Linked DNA regions of Homo sapiens: regions 2 and 3 are each linked to region 1. Evidence: promoter capture Hi-C in 16 types of primary human blood cells and fetal thymus (Javierre and others, 2016). All regions are on one chromosome and are shown on one strand. The core of a region is centred on a gene start or on the middle of the fragment in contact, and the rest is flanking DNA. Distances in the headings are between cores, read along the strand shown.

The links. The method cuts DNA at HindIII sites, captures the fragments that hold promoters and counts their contacts. A CHiCAGO score of 5 or more calls a contact.
Region 2: a contact is called between the fragment with the promoter of VCL here and the fragment with the promoter of VDAC2 in region 1, in 4 of 17 cell types (neutrophils, total B cells, monocytes and 1 more). The highest score is 9.5, in neutrophils.
Region 3: the fragment with the promoter of AP3M1 here is called in contact with the fragment with the promoter of VDAC2 in region 1 in 14 of 17 cell types (fetal thymus, neutrophils, total B cells and 11 more); the score reaches 28.2 in fetal thymus.

Annotation. Positions count from the first base shown.
Region 1 is chr10:75,208,903-75,213,620 of GRCh38, forward strand. It overlaps VDAC2 (voltage dependent anion channel 2), which reads left to right and starts at 1,894. Exons shown (of 10, transcript NM_001391963.1): 1 at 1,894-2,036; 2 at 2,232-2,287; 3 at 3,328-3,396. The coding sequence starts at 2,257. RefSeq lists enhancers at 1,217-1,798, 1,529-1,823 and silencers at 1,468-1,777, 1,798-2,167. The HindIII fragment of the contact is 6,617 bases long and covers 571-4,718 here.
Region 2 is chr10:73,995,759-74,000,476 of GRCh38, forward strand. VCL (vinculin) reads left to right here and starts at 2,358. Exons shown (of 22, transcript NM_014000.3): 1 at 2,358-2,617. The coding sequence starts at 2,450. RefSeq lists silencers at 1,967-2,326, 2,657-2,706 and enhancers at 2,387-2,586, 2,659-3,310. The HindIII fragment of the contact is 4,841 bases long and covers 969-4,718 here.
Region 3 is chr10:74,148,966-74,153,683 of GRCh38, forward strand. AP3M1 (adaptor related protein complex 3 subunit mu 1) reads right to left here and starts at 1,863. Exons shown (of 9, transcript NM_012095.6): 1 at 1,790-1,863. It overlaps ADK (adenosine kinase), which reads left to right and starts at 2,256. Exons shown (of 11, transcript NM_006721.4): 1 at 2,256-2,378. The coding sequence starts at 2,314. RefSeq lists enhancers at 1,787-2,016, 2,427-2,606. The HindIII fragment of the contact is 5,595 bases long and covers 1,552-4,718 here.

The sequences.
Region 1 (4,718 bases), core at 644-3,143:
ACTCGGGAGGCTGAGGCAGGAGAATGGCGTGAACCCGGAAGGTGGAGATTGCAGTGAGCCGAGATCGCGCCACTGCACTCCAGTCTGGGCGACAGAGCGAGACTCCGTCTCAAAAAAAAAAGAAGAAAACCCAAAAAAACCACTGAGGTCTACCGGCGACATTATTGGATAGATGACTGCTTTGGGAGTTCCAGTTGAACCCATTTCTATTTCATTAGACTGCTCATTTTTTCTTTTTCCTTTGGCTCTGTTAAAAGAAAAAATTACAAAGAATTTAGTTTAAACATCTTAACTGGCTTTTAGTTCCAATTCTACAATTGGGCAACGCTTCATTCTGTAAAATGGAATGAATGTTCCAATGAGAAGAGGAAGTTGGTATTACAGACAGAAAAGGACCGAGGAAAGCAGAAACAAAAAGTGGATTAGTTGGTAGAAAGTTACTTTTCTTGTAAAGGTTAAAGAACACGGGACTTCTTCATGCCAGCTAAAACTGACCTGTTTGGGGATTTTTGTTTTGAGACAGGGTCTTACTCCAGCGGGCAGGCTGGAGTGCAGTAGTGGCACCATCTAAGCTTACTACAGCCTCAACCTCCCAGGCTCAAGCGATCCTCCCTCCTCAGCCTCCCAATTAGCTGGGACTACAGGCGCCAGCCACCACGCCCGGCTATTTTTTTTTTTTTTTTTTTTTTTTTTGGTAGAGGCAGGGTATTACTATGCCTAGGCTGGTCCGGAACTCCTGAGCTCAGGCGATCCGCCCACCTCGGCATCCAAAAGTGCTGGTATTACAGGTGTGAGCCACCGCGCCCAGCCTGTTTGGGGATCTGGCTAGCATCTGTTTCTCTCCTGATTTCTTGGAAGGTCAGATAAAGATCCTAGCTTTGGCGTGGTAGTGTGAAACTTCAGCATGAGTAACCCCATTTTGGTTTGGTCTGATGGGCCTAATGCAGGAGGTCAGTCTAAACTAACGGTCTCCCATATACATTTTATCTAATAGCTCTGTCACCCTTCCTGCACACCCGGGGAACTCGGGTGCGGCATTCTAACGCCTGCTCAGCATGATTCCACATTTTCTCCAGGCCCATAATCCAGAGGAGGTTGGGCCCGGAGCAGGCTTGCCTCGCCAAGCTCCGGCTCCGTGCGTGTGTGAAGCAGTGCCATGCCTGAGTGGGGAGGAGCCGCGGAAGAGAAAGCGTAAGGCGGCGTGGAAATGGGTGGGGCACGCTAGGACCCGCTCACATTTGTTCAGGGAGAGGCAGTCCCAAAAAGCCTCTCAGGCACACAACCCAGCACAGCAAGGCAGTCACACCAAGGTGGGAAAAGAGGGCAGAAGAGCGCGAGGGGCTGGAGGTGGCGCCCCTGTGTCCCACTCGTTCTCCCTGGGCTGGGAAAGAGAAGCGGTCCCTCAGAAGCGCAGGCTGCGCTAGCTTAGGATGGACGTGGGTAACGCTCAGCTGACTCCCCGCAGGCACCCTATGCAGGGCTTTGTTTCGGGGGGGAACCCGCACCAGCGCGTAAGGGGAGTAGGAGAGATCTACGTGACCCTGGTGCGCAGCCGCGCCCTATCGCCCCGGCCACGCGCCGACGCCCCGCCCCGTCCGTGACGCGTTCGCGCGGGGCCTCCGCCCCATCCCCCTCCCAGGCGGTCCCCAGCGCGCTGCCTCCGCCGTTCCCCGCCCCCTCGCCTCTGAGGCTGCCCGGATAGCTGCCTGATCCAAGGCCCAGCAGCTTCTGCCTTCCGGATCCCCACCGACGGACGGAGGCAGCCCACCTGCAGGACCGGGGCGCTGTCGGTCCACGTGGCCGCTCTGGAGCAGGTTGGAGTTGGCAGCGGGCTGCGCTGCAGGGACAGGCGCGGCGGACAGCCCCGGGGGCAGCGGCGGGGTCCTGTCTGGGAGAGGACAGGGTTGCGGCGGGCGGAACGGTGTCTCCTTCACTTCGCCCTCCAGCTGCTGGAGCTGCAGCCCGACCGCGAGCGTGCCAAGCGGCTTCAGCAGCTAGCGGAGCGGTGGCGGCGGCCCCCCTCAGGACACCACCAGGTACCGCCGCGCCCGCCTCACGCCGACCCAGGGGCCTAGGCCGCGGCGGCCAAGCCGGAGGCCCGCGCCGGACTCGGAGTCGGCCCTGGCTTCCTAAGATGGCCGCGCTGCCCCGCGGCCCCTCGCCCCTCTCTGCCCGGGATCTCCCTTTGGCCCTTTGACCCCAGCTTACCGCACTTCTTGTCCCTCCCGCAGATTCCCCTCTTCCCGCGGCCTCGCCATGGCGACCCACGGACAGACTTGCGCGCGTCGTAAGTAAAGCTGGGATCTCTGCGGGATGGGGCGGCGGAGAGTCGAAGCCTGTCGACCAGAAACCCAGTTTGTTTCCCCCTATCTTTCCAAGAACTTGGAAATTCGGCTGCTTTTGGTGGTCGCCCCACCGTCTGACCACCTCCTCTGCGGAGGAGGGGCTGGGCTGCTGGATTTCAAATGGGGAACAAGGCCCGGGGAGTTGGTCTGTGGCCGCATGGACTTTTCAGCCTTTGTACATGTCTTTGACGTATAGAAGTAAAAAGTTGTTAATTGGGGATTCTGCCTTTGGAGGATCGGATCAATCACTTTTCTAGAGGAAGTAGCAGTCCCTCTTGTGAGAGCGCAAGGTCATTACTTGTGCTCCTAAGGGCGTGGACGTGCTTTGTGGAATGAATGAGCTGGTGTAATGAGCTCAGATTGCCTGCCCTTAAGCAGCACAGCATTGGCCGAGGACTTGAGAGTCACATTAGTAAGTTTGAAGCGCTATTTGATATTTAGTTGATGTAGACATTTGAGTGAAACACACATGGCAGTATTTTTTCCAAGTTTCAATATTTAAATTCCCAGTATTAAATTCTCTTCCCACTCCAGGGTGTTGGTTTTCCCCTCAGCGAAGATATTAAAGGACGTATCAGGGTAAAGGGCCTAGTCTTAGGTTTCGGTTTTATCTAATTTAGTTAAATCAGCTCATCTCAGTGAATTTTGGCAGATACATAAATATCCATACACACAAATACTTGTTTGATTCTTTGTACTTGTCCAGTCCTAGGAAGTGAGGCTGTAGGTAATAGACTGTTTTTCCGTTTTGAAACGAATTCCCCAAGTTTGTATAATCATGGTTATCTGTTTTAGAAATAATTCGTTGGTGGTATCTCCTTTATGGGTCGTTATAGTTCTATTGTAGCTCCTGACCGCATAAAAAACATTCCAACAAATGGGATTGCTTGAATTTTAATATCAGCAGTGGGTCATGCTCTTGTTCTTGGATAGAAGGTGGGAGAATAGAGACATTAACACTGGAATGTTTTTTTTCTACCAGCAATGTGTATTCCTCCATCATATGCTGACCTTGGCAAAGCTGCCAGAGATATTTTCAACAAAGGATTTGGTAAGAACCTTATTTTTAAAACGTTTTAGATAAAGAGTGAAAATGTATGTTTGGGTTGCTTAGCGAAATCAGATCAATCATTGCAAATTGTAAATATCTTGCTGCTTTAAATTTAGAGTTACTTATTTTTTTGAGACAGGGTCTCCCTCTGTTGCCCAGGCTGGATGCAGTGGCATGATTATACCTCACTGCAGCCTGGACCTCCTGGGCTCAAGCGATCATCTTTCCTCAGCCTCCCACGTCCCAAGTAGCTGGGACTACAGGCACGCTCTGCCACACCTGGCTAATTTTTTTTATTTTTCGTAGAGGTGGGGTCTCACTGTGTTACCCAGTAAACACAGTGGCCTCTCAAAGCCTGGTTGGATTACGTTACAGACATGAGCCACTGTGCCCAGCCTTGTATTAATTCTTCTATTAGAAACTTAAGATACTTAGATTAAACTTATGTGAAAATAGTTCTTTTACAGTCTACATCCCCCTCCCCCAATTTCCCAAAATTTTTAAAAACTGTACTTAGAAGATTTGAGCCTTTAAGAAAAACGGCTCGTGCTTTAATTTTTTTTCAGTTATAGCTTAGGCCCTGGTTGACTAGAGTTACGATATATTACTGTTTTGCTTTTGTGGTGACTCCTAATACTTTATCTAGAGTTATGAGCTTTTTCAGGTGAATTTGAGTTTTCTTGAAAATTTTGTTCCATACCCTCCTCCCCTTTATTTAGACTGTTGGAAATACCCCATTGGCATAAATGTCCTAAATGTCTGTATTATGATAAGTTGGTTTTGTTTTTGTTTTTTTTTGAGACGGAATCTCGCTCTGTTGCCCAGGCTGGAGTACAGGGGCGTGATCTCGGCTCCCTGCAGCCTCTGCCTCCTGGGTTCCAGCAATTCTCCTGCCTCAGCCTCTCTGGTAACTGGGATTACAGGCACATGCCACCATGCCCAGCTTTTTTTTTGTATTTTTAGTAGAGACGAGGTTTCACCATGTTGGCCAGGCTGGTTTTGAACTCCTGATCTCAAGTGGTCTGCCTGCCTCGACTACCCGAAGTGCTAGGATTTCAGGCGTGGGCCACCGCACCTGGCCATATCATGATAAGTTATTAGCTATTCTGAAATTTCAGTTGAATGATTTTTTAATCTGATATTTAAGTTTAAGAATAGTTTGGGGGCTGGGCGTGGTGGCTCACACCTGTAATCCCAGCACTTTGGGAGGCCGAGGCGGGCAGATCACGAGGTCAGGAGATCGAGACCATCCTAGCTAACACGGTGAAACCCCATCTCTACTAAAAATACAAAAAATTAGCCAGGCGTGGTGGCACGCACCT
Region 2 (4,718 bases), core at 1,108-3,607, 1.2 Mb before region 1:
TGGCCAGTCAGGCATTAAAGATGATTACATGATCAAGCCTCTGAGTCTTCCTGCCAATCTGTAGGAAATATATAGTTCAGAAGAACAAGTTAAACTACACATAAATATACAATCAGCAAAGTGGGGACAGGGTGAGGATTTAACAAAATCATACACTTTTTGGGAGGCTATATATACTTTGGGAGGCCATTTATACTTTGGGAGGCCAAGGCAGGTGGATTTCTTGAGTCCAGGAGTTTGAGATCAGCCTGGACAACATGGCGAAACCTTGTCTCTATCAAAAATACAAAAATTAGCCGGGCGTGGTGGCATGCACCTGTGGTCCCAGCTACTTGGGATGCTGAGGTGGGAGAATCACCTGAGCCTGGGGAGGTCAAGGCTGCAGTGAGCCGAAATCACACCACTGCACTCCAGCCTGGACAATCGGAGTGAGACCCTATCTCAAAAAATAAAAACATAAATAAAAATAAATAAAATAAAATAATTTTTAAAATAAAAAAATCATATCGTTCCATCACTCAACTTTTTTTTTTTTGGACAGGGAGTCTCACTCTGTTGCTCAGGCTAGAGTGCAATGGCACGGTATCAGCTCACTGCAACCTCCACCTCCCAGGTTCAAGCAAGTCTCCTGTCTCAGCCTCCCGATTAGCTGGGATTACAGGCACCTGCCACCACACCTGGCTAATTTTTGTATTTTTAGTTGAGACGGGGTTTCACCAGGTTGGCCAGGCTGGTCTTGAACCCCTGACCTCAGGTGATCTGCCTGCCTCAGCCTCCCAAAATGCTGGGATTACAGGCGTGAGCCACCGTGCCTGGCCCCATCACCCAAATATTTATACTATTAACACAAAGTAATGGGCAGAGAAAACAGCTGTGGTGGTTGTGGTAGGACTAGACAAAAATTTTCATTTGATGTGAGAATCTTTTGCTTGGAGGCATTACTGAAAGTGTTTACCTCAGAATGGGAAAGCTTGGGCAAAAGCGAATTTGAAGTAAGTAAGACGTTTGGAAGATGTCTTTTTTTTTTTTTTTTTTTTTTTGAGACAGAGTCTTGCTCTGTCGCCCAGGATGGAGTGTAGTGGCGCGATCTCCGCTCACTGCAAGCTCCGCCTCCCGGGTTCACGCCATTGTCCTGCCTCAGCCTCATGAGTAACTGGGACTACAGGCGCCCGCCACCACGCCTGGCTATTTTTTTTGTATTTTTAGTAGATACGGGGTTTCACCGTGTTAGACAGGATGGCCTAGATCTCCTGACCTCGTGATCCGCCCGCCTCAGCCTCCCAAAGTGCTGGGATTACAGGCGTGAGCCATCGCGCCCGGCCTGGAAGATGTCTTATACAAAGCGTGAGGGAACTGGATAATTTGGTCTTACCTATCAAAATATAAAATGCATATACTTTTGCGTTTTTCTCTTTCCTGGTAGGCATTTGCGCTAGATAAATACACAGATGCACAGCACAGGGGTAAGTACAATTCATGCAGAATTGTTTTTTAATAGTGAAAACCAGGACCCAACCCAAGTCCATGAGTAGGAAATTGGTTCTGTAAATAGTTTTATTTCATGCAATGGAATATCATGCAGTCATTAAGAAGAATGAGGTAGACCTCTACCAGCAGTGAAAGATAAGGGCATTTTAATCAAGGGCAATCATACCTAGTTCCAGGAAAATGTTTATTAATCTCATTTAGTTAGAAAATATATATGTAGAAGTGAATCTATAGACAAGTCTAGAAGGCTACACACCCAGCTGTTAAACAGAATGTCTTTGAGGAGGGCAGGGGGCGGAGTCTGCGTTTACGTGAATGGGACGCTGCTGTTTCTCAGTGCACCTCTGCTGTTTGAATCTTTTACTAAAAACCTTCCCATGCATTGCTGGGAGGGAATGGAAGGAGTATTTTGAGGGTTTCGTGTGAAGGGAAAAGTTGAGGAGGGGACGTGGGAGACCCCTTGGTCTCATCAAACTCTAGCGCCGCTTGAGGTGAGGAGACCCCGCCCCGCTGAGGTGATTCTGCAGAGGGGCGGAGCCCCCCAGATCCGAGGCGGGAGGCGGCCCGGGGGCGGGACCAGCCGGCTCCAGCGGCCCGCTCCGCTCCCACCATGCCCTTATAAGGAGCGCCCGGCGTTAGGGCTCGGGAATCCGGTAGCAATCCCGGCGGCTCAGCCCCAATCCCAGGCCCCTCCCTTAGGAATGGGGGAGGGGCGGGGTTTGGCGGCGCGGTGGCTGGGGCGGAGCATCTCGAAAAGGGACCAGTAGGAGTGGCGGCCCAGGTCTGAGCTGCGCTGCCATTGGGCGCGGCGACGAGAGGGGGCGGGGAGCCCGTGAGGCTGGTTACGCCGAGGGAAGCCCCGACTCCGTAGTCGCTGCACAGTCTGTCTCTTCGCCGGTTCCCGGCCCCGTGGATCCTACTTCTCTGTCGCCCGCGGTTCGCCGCCCCGCTCGCCGCCGCGATGCCAGTGTTTCATACGCGCACGATCGAGAGCATCCTGGAGCCGGTGGCACAGCAGATCTCCCACCTGGTGATAATGCACGAGGAGGGCGAGGTGGACGGCAAAGCCATTCCTGACCTCACCGCGCCCGTGGCCGCCGTGCAGGCGGCCGTCAGCAACCTCGTCCGGGTGAGCGCGCAGGGCCTGGCGCGGGAGCGGGCGCGGGAGGTATCCCCGGGGCCCCGGCCCGCGTCGCGGCTGCCTGTGGCCGGCTCGCTGGCCGTGGCTTTCCGCGTGGGTTCCGGAGCCAGGCGCCGAGGGTTCGAATGGCCTCTTCTCCGCCCTGTGACCTTGAGCGAGTCCTGAGCCTCTCCGGGCCTCAGTGTCCTCATCTATAAAATGGGAGCAGTCATGAAAAAGGCTGCCTTGCGGGCTTGTCGTGAAGATATGGCGAGGTATTATTCGTGGAGTGCCTCGCGCGGCGTGTGGCCCACAGCAGACACCCAATAAATGAGAGTTGCTGGGATGTCCGAGGGTCCCTGCCCCGCGCAGGCTTCGCCCCCACGTTGACTTCCTCGCTCTCAGCGCCTTTTAGGCCTCCTCGATCTGGCTGTGCGGGGGAGGGAGAGCGGGCCTTCCCACGGATCCCTTGCCTTCTCTTCTAGGGATCCTTATTTGAGCCACGTTGTCCTCCTTTCTAATACTTCTGCCCCTCACCCTGAGACCCGCCTCGCCCACCCCCGCTCCCCAGAGCTCCCTGTATTCCGCCCTTTTATTCACTTGCCTCACTCTCTGTCGCCTCCTCCTCCCTCCTGGGCATTTTACTTATGCTCACTCCTCTGGCACTCTCACACCTTTATGCAGTCATTCGTGACCACAAGCCCGGTTTTTCCTTCCGCTCAGCCCTGCTGCCCTTCCTTTCATTCCCTCCTGTGGACATTTTCACCTGGCGTTACCTGCTGTCAAACGGCCTCCTCCCACTGGGGCCTTTCTAGACTCGGGGGCCCTCCTTGGCCCCTCCTCCTGGCAGGAAGCAAGATGGAGCTGTTGGGAGAGGCCTGTGGAATCTGGGATCTGCCGCCCCTGCCGGAGAGAAGGCTGGGGCATCCGCTCCCCATCCACAACTTTCCTGGTGGCTCTGCAGACCCCTGTAACCCACAGCTGTGACTCATAACCGAGGTGATTCCTGGAGGAGGTGGAGCCCACGTCTGAAATGGGAAAAAAGAGGTGCTGAGACCAGTCTCCCAAGACTCCCCTGGCTAATGTCACACTTTTCTTTCCCACCCTGGGTGGGTGACTCAGACTGGTCCTGCTTGTGAGGAACAATTTTGGAAAAAGTTCATACTGCTCCCCCACTGAGCTGTGTAAATAGTGTGTGTCAGGGCAGTTGGGCGGCAACTGTGGGTCTGTCTGGGTGGGGCTTGGGTTACTTTTCTGATTTGAGCACTTTAGTGCACTTAGAGGCTCTTTAGCAGCTGAAAGTCTTCCTCAGTCTTCAGGGGTCCCTGGACTGTCTCAAGCAATTTAGGAGACTGGTAGCTAGGAAGACAGGGTGACACCACCGACCAAATTCCTGATCTTTCTTCTCTATAGCTTTAGTAAGAATCTATTCATTCAGTAAGAATGCTGTATTCATTCACAATGTCTACTTGTACATTGTTCTTCTTTTTATAACTAATTTGAACAGAACACTCCAGAGTACATTCTTATGTAGTGTTGTCTAACATGGCTGCATTCCAGGCCTCCATTTTTCAACAAATAGGAAACAATGTAAAGAGACAAGGTAATAGTGTCTCTCCATGTAGTACTTCAGGAAATGAAATCTTAAAACCACATGTTGCACTTGGAACAGAGCTAGTGTAGTCTAGGGGTTGATATCTGGTTAGGCTATTTAGAGAAAAGTTATTTATGGGCTTCCATGCCATGAATTAATAAGCATTGAATGTCTGCTATATGGAAAACACTGCAATAAATCAGTGCTTCTCAGCTTAAGAGTGTTCATGAAAATCATCAGTGAGGCTTTTTAGAAATTAAGATGTCCAGCTCCCACGGGTCAAGGCCTTTGTATTTTGCTTTTTTTTTTTTTTTTTTTTGAGACAGGGTCTCGCTCTGTCACGCAGGCGCTGGAGTGCAATGGCGTGATCATAGCTCACTGCAGCCTCCATCTCCTGGACTGAGAAAAATCCTCCCACCTCAGCCTCCCAAGTAGCTGAAGGCCTTTGTTTGTTTGTTTGTTTGTTTGTTTTTGAGATGGAGTCTTCCTCTGTCACGAGGCTGGAGTGCAGTGACA
Region 3 (4,718 bases), core at 613-3,112, 1.1 Mb before region 1:
GGGTTCAAGCGATTCTCCTGCCTCAACCTCCCGAGTAGCTGGGACTACAGGCACGTGCCACCACGCCCAGATAATTTTTATATTTTTAGTAGTGACGGGGTTTCTCCATATTTGCCAGGATGGTCTCGATCTCTTGACCTCGTGATCCACCCACCTCAGCCTCTCAAAGTGCTGGGATTACAGGCATGAGCCCTACCGTGCCTGGCCGTATATTATATTAAATGGTTAGAAATAAAAATCATAAGATTAAGTAAGAAAATATAATCTTGTTGCAAAGAGAGCTTTCCTAAAGATACGTAAGGTTTTTTTTTTTTTTTTTTTTTTTTTTTTTTTTTTTTTTTCGAGGCAGAGTCTCGCTCTGTCGCTCAGGGTGGAGTGCAGTGGTGAGGTCTCAGCTTACTGCAACTTCCGCCTCCCGGGTTCAAGGGATTCTCCTGCCTCAGCCTACCAAGTAGCTGGGACTACAGGCGTGTGCCACCACACCTGGCTAATTTTTGTATTTTTAGTAGAGACAGGGTTTCACTATGTTGGCCAGGTTGGTCTCGAACTCCTGACTTTGTGATCCGCCCGCTTCAGCCTGCCAAAGTGCTGAGATTACAGGCGTGAGCCACCGCGCCTGGCCAAGATTCGTAAATTAAGATAATTCTTCATTAACCTCATTCACTTCACTTCTCCTATAGTGTCAATTGAAAGTGTCCCTCTGTCTTTCCCAAATTAATCCTTTCACTTGTAACTTGATCCCATTCCTTTCCTTCTCTTCTGGGAGACAAGACTTTTTCTTGAATCTTCAAATAGTTGCTTGCTTCCTGCCCCCAAATAGATATCTTGTATTCTTTAAAACAAACCCCAAACTTTCCCCCACCTTGCCACTCTCAATAATCTTGCTTCATGCCCCAAATGATGAAGGATTGGTCTACACTTGCAGTCTTTCCTCAGTTACTATTAAAGCATCTCTCTCAAACAGCTCAATGACTTTCTAATTATAAAATCCAACGACCTATTCTGATTTCAGCTTCCTCCTCTGACCATTGCAGCATTTTATGTCATTGATAACTTTCTCCTAAACAAAAATACTTCTTACCCTTTTATATGAAACTTCATCTGTTTTGGGTCTCACCTTGAAAGTCTTTCGGGCTTAATTCTCATAATTTTTTTTAAAGTCTTTCTACAATCTCCATGTAAACCACTGTTTCAAATTCGATAAAACTCAAACTCCATAAAATACCTCCTCCTGTCACTGGCACCATCTTCTTAATCACACATAAGGCTGTAAGTTTCAGGTTCAAACAAATCTACCAAATACAAACAGCCACATCGCCCGTCACTCTTCCACACTCACTGCCACCTGCTCAGCTTAGAACCCCGTTACCTCTCTCCTGAAGAACTGCAACACCCTTCTCACTGCATTCCTCACCCCAGGCTCTTCCAGGCACCACCCGCTAACAGGACGTCTGCTCAGGTCCGTTTGGGGTTTTGTCCTCCAAAGCAGAAACCTGGGACTGAGATTCCTGCCGTCTGTACTCCAGCTCACTATAGAGGGGGAACCCAGTAAGCTTGACCTCCGGGGCTCAGGCGCCTGAGAACACTGGGCTGCAGGTGGACCGCTCCCTTCTGGCCTTGCTGGCGAGAAAGCCCGGAAGGCCGGGAGTGGGGGGGAAGCGAGGCCCGGGCCAACAGCACCAAAGACGCTCCTAGAGCCCAGATCGGAGTCGGGGGCCCCAGCTATTCAGCCTACTCCCGGGTTTTGGAGCTGTCCCCAGTCCACAGATTTCCCGCCCCTCACACTCACCCCAACACCTGTGCCAGTCAGTGATTCGGCGCCGGATCCTCTCCTACCGAAGCTGGAGAAGCCGAGAAGGCCGCGAGGACCCGCAGCTGGAGTGCCCAGGAAATTGCCTGATTAACAGCTTCAAAGACACCGACTCTGTCTACCGTATTAGAAATTTTAAATATGCAGGAAGACCGTAAATGAGAGGAAAGACGTCTCTTGAGGCTTAGTATCTAAATCTTCTACATAATCCAGGGCCTAGAAAAATGGTGGGTTTCTCTCCATCTAGATTCAGGCGGTCATCTGCTGCCTAACGCAGTCTGGGGTCCCTCATGGTAGGGGAGGCGGGGTCAGGAATGGGCGGGGCATTCGCTGTTGGTGCCGACGGATAGAGCCAATGATTGTGGATGACAGCGGCACAGAATGGGCGGAGTCTGGAGGGGCGGGATTTGGAGAAGAGAAAGCGGTGATGCGAAGAGGGGGCGGGACCAGAGAGTGGATGGCAGAGGTGGGCTGTAGAGCCAAAGTGGGGTGGGAGCGCGAAGATGGCAGCTGCTGAGGAGGAGCCGAAGCCCAAAAAGCTGAAGGTGGAGGCGCCGCAAGCGCTGAGGTGAGCGCTGCCGGACTTGGGGAGGAGGGTGACGGCGCTGCAAGCAAGCCAGGGCCCACGTGGGGTTGCACGGCCCCGACGCTGGGTGGTGTCTCTCACTGCCAGCTTGGGGCCAACACGCAGGACCTCCCCCAGCTGCCCGCTTGGCCGCGACCCCTTGCCAGACGTTCTCTCCGTTTGGCTGAGTCCCCGCCTGTCTGGTGCAGCTCCGGCTCCAGCAGCCCTTCGCCAGTCGTGGCCCGCAGGGGGACCGAGCTGGCTGACCGCGCCACCTGCGAGCAAGCCCAGGCTGGGCTGGTGCGACCCCGGAGGGTCGGACCGGAGCAGCGTCTGTAGGCGGCCGCCTTCTCTTCCCGGGGGATGGCGGGAAAGAGGCTCGGCAACTGCTGTACACTGGGGCAAAGTCAGAATTCTTGGGGATTTTTCAGAGTGTTGCGGAAGGGCACGTTGACCTTCCTTTTCGTGCACATTCTGAAAGCCCGTACCTTTGAGGACCCTCTACCAGGGACCCAGACCCCTCCGATGCTTTGCAGGGGCAGCATTTGGATGAATGGATAGGAAAGGTTGATTTCTCTTTTTTATTTACACTTTTTGGCAGCAACGGGGACAGTGCTGCCCCTAACACCTGCCTCACATGTGATTGATGTTGCAACTTTTACTTATGAAGAGTCATTTGTTAAAATATCCCTTCCTAATAAGTATAAAGTGAAGCAGGCAGTCTTTGATGATTTGGAAATGTTCGCTGAAAGGCAGCGATTTTTTTTTCCATCTTAAAATAGACATATCAAACTGATTTAAAACTATTAGGACACTCCTGATTAAACAGGACATATCCCATTTCTTCCAGTATCACTCTTCTTCACCTCCAAAGGAAGGAATCACTCACAATTGAAAAGAAAAGGACACTTAGGGGCCTGGTGGTGTGTTCATGCTGCTTTGAATGGAGGGTGAACAAATCCTTGCCAGTTCCTTTAATGTATTCCTACTACCCTCAAAGGGTTAGTGTGCCTACCTTATACCAAGAACATAAACTTTAAAATAAAAACCCTCAGGATATTCTATTTTTATTTTAAATATTCCAACTATATGCAGAATAAAAAGCAACGGCTTTTGAATCAGACCTACCTGAGTTCAAGGCATGTGCTTTCCCTACTCTGCCCTTTATTAGAGTATTTCCTTATAAGGCACCTCCTTCGCCAAACTGGAAGACAGATGCAACTTTTCCCTACCATCCTACTGAACATATAACCCTTAGATTTCCTTAGATTTTTCCTTAATAAAAATTATTATATATAATGCTGATCCATTTTCACTGTGTTTTCCTATTTATTATCTTGTTGGACAGTTCTGTGATCAAAGGAAGGCAAGAATTATGCCTATTTTACAATTGAAGATATTGAAGCCCAAATAAAACAATTAGTACAGGAACAGAAATAGGAACTAGCTGAGCATGTTTTCTTATACCTGCAGTCCTGGTGCTTTGTGAGGCTGTGGTGAGAGCATTCCTTAGGCAACTAAAATTCACTTTATACAATATGAATTTAGTGCCACCTGTAGACATGAAGTTAAAAGATTAGACACTTGAGTACTGGGACAAATCTCTAATTTTGTGGGGAGACATTTTAGGATCGGCTATTATTACTTTTATTATATTAATTTGCTTTCAGACTCAAAGTGTGATAATGCATTGAGTATTTACACTGAATTTATGATGACTTGCTTGACAGGGGATTGCTACTGGTTTTGGTTAAGGAGAATGGATTATAAAGACTTTGCATAATTTAATGTGCAGCATCAGTGGGAACAAATAATGAGATATATTTGTAGATGTCAGGAAAAATATTTAGATTTAGGGATTTGTGAGAATTTGGTCAGCTCTGGGATAATAATTCTCCACCAGGGGAAATTTTGCCCTCCAGGGGACATTTGGCGTGGTCTAGAAAGATATTTTTGGTAGGGAGAGCTATTGGCACCTAGTGGATGGAATTCAGGGGTGCTGCTAAACATGCTACATAGGACAACCCCCACAACAAAGAATTATCTGGCCAAATACGTCAACGGTGTTGAGGTTGAGAAATCTGTTCTAGAGGGAGCATCTGACAAGACTAGTCTGCCTTTCTCAAATATCTATTATTTTTCTAGGCTCGGTTGCTTTTCAGCATATAACAGTTGCTTATAAAGAAAGAATCAGGCTCTGACATGTTTTCACGTGGGATTAGGGGAAAGAAGGGAACGTTAATTGAGTGCTAGACATTATACTATGTGCTCTATATATGTTATCTCTTTTAACCCTCCCAGTGACCTATGAGGTAGGAGCAATGATTCCTGTGTTACAGACGA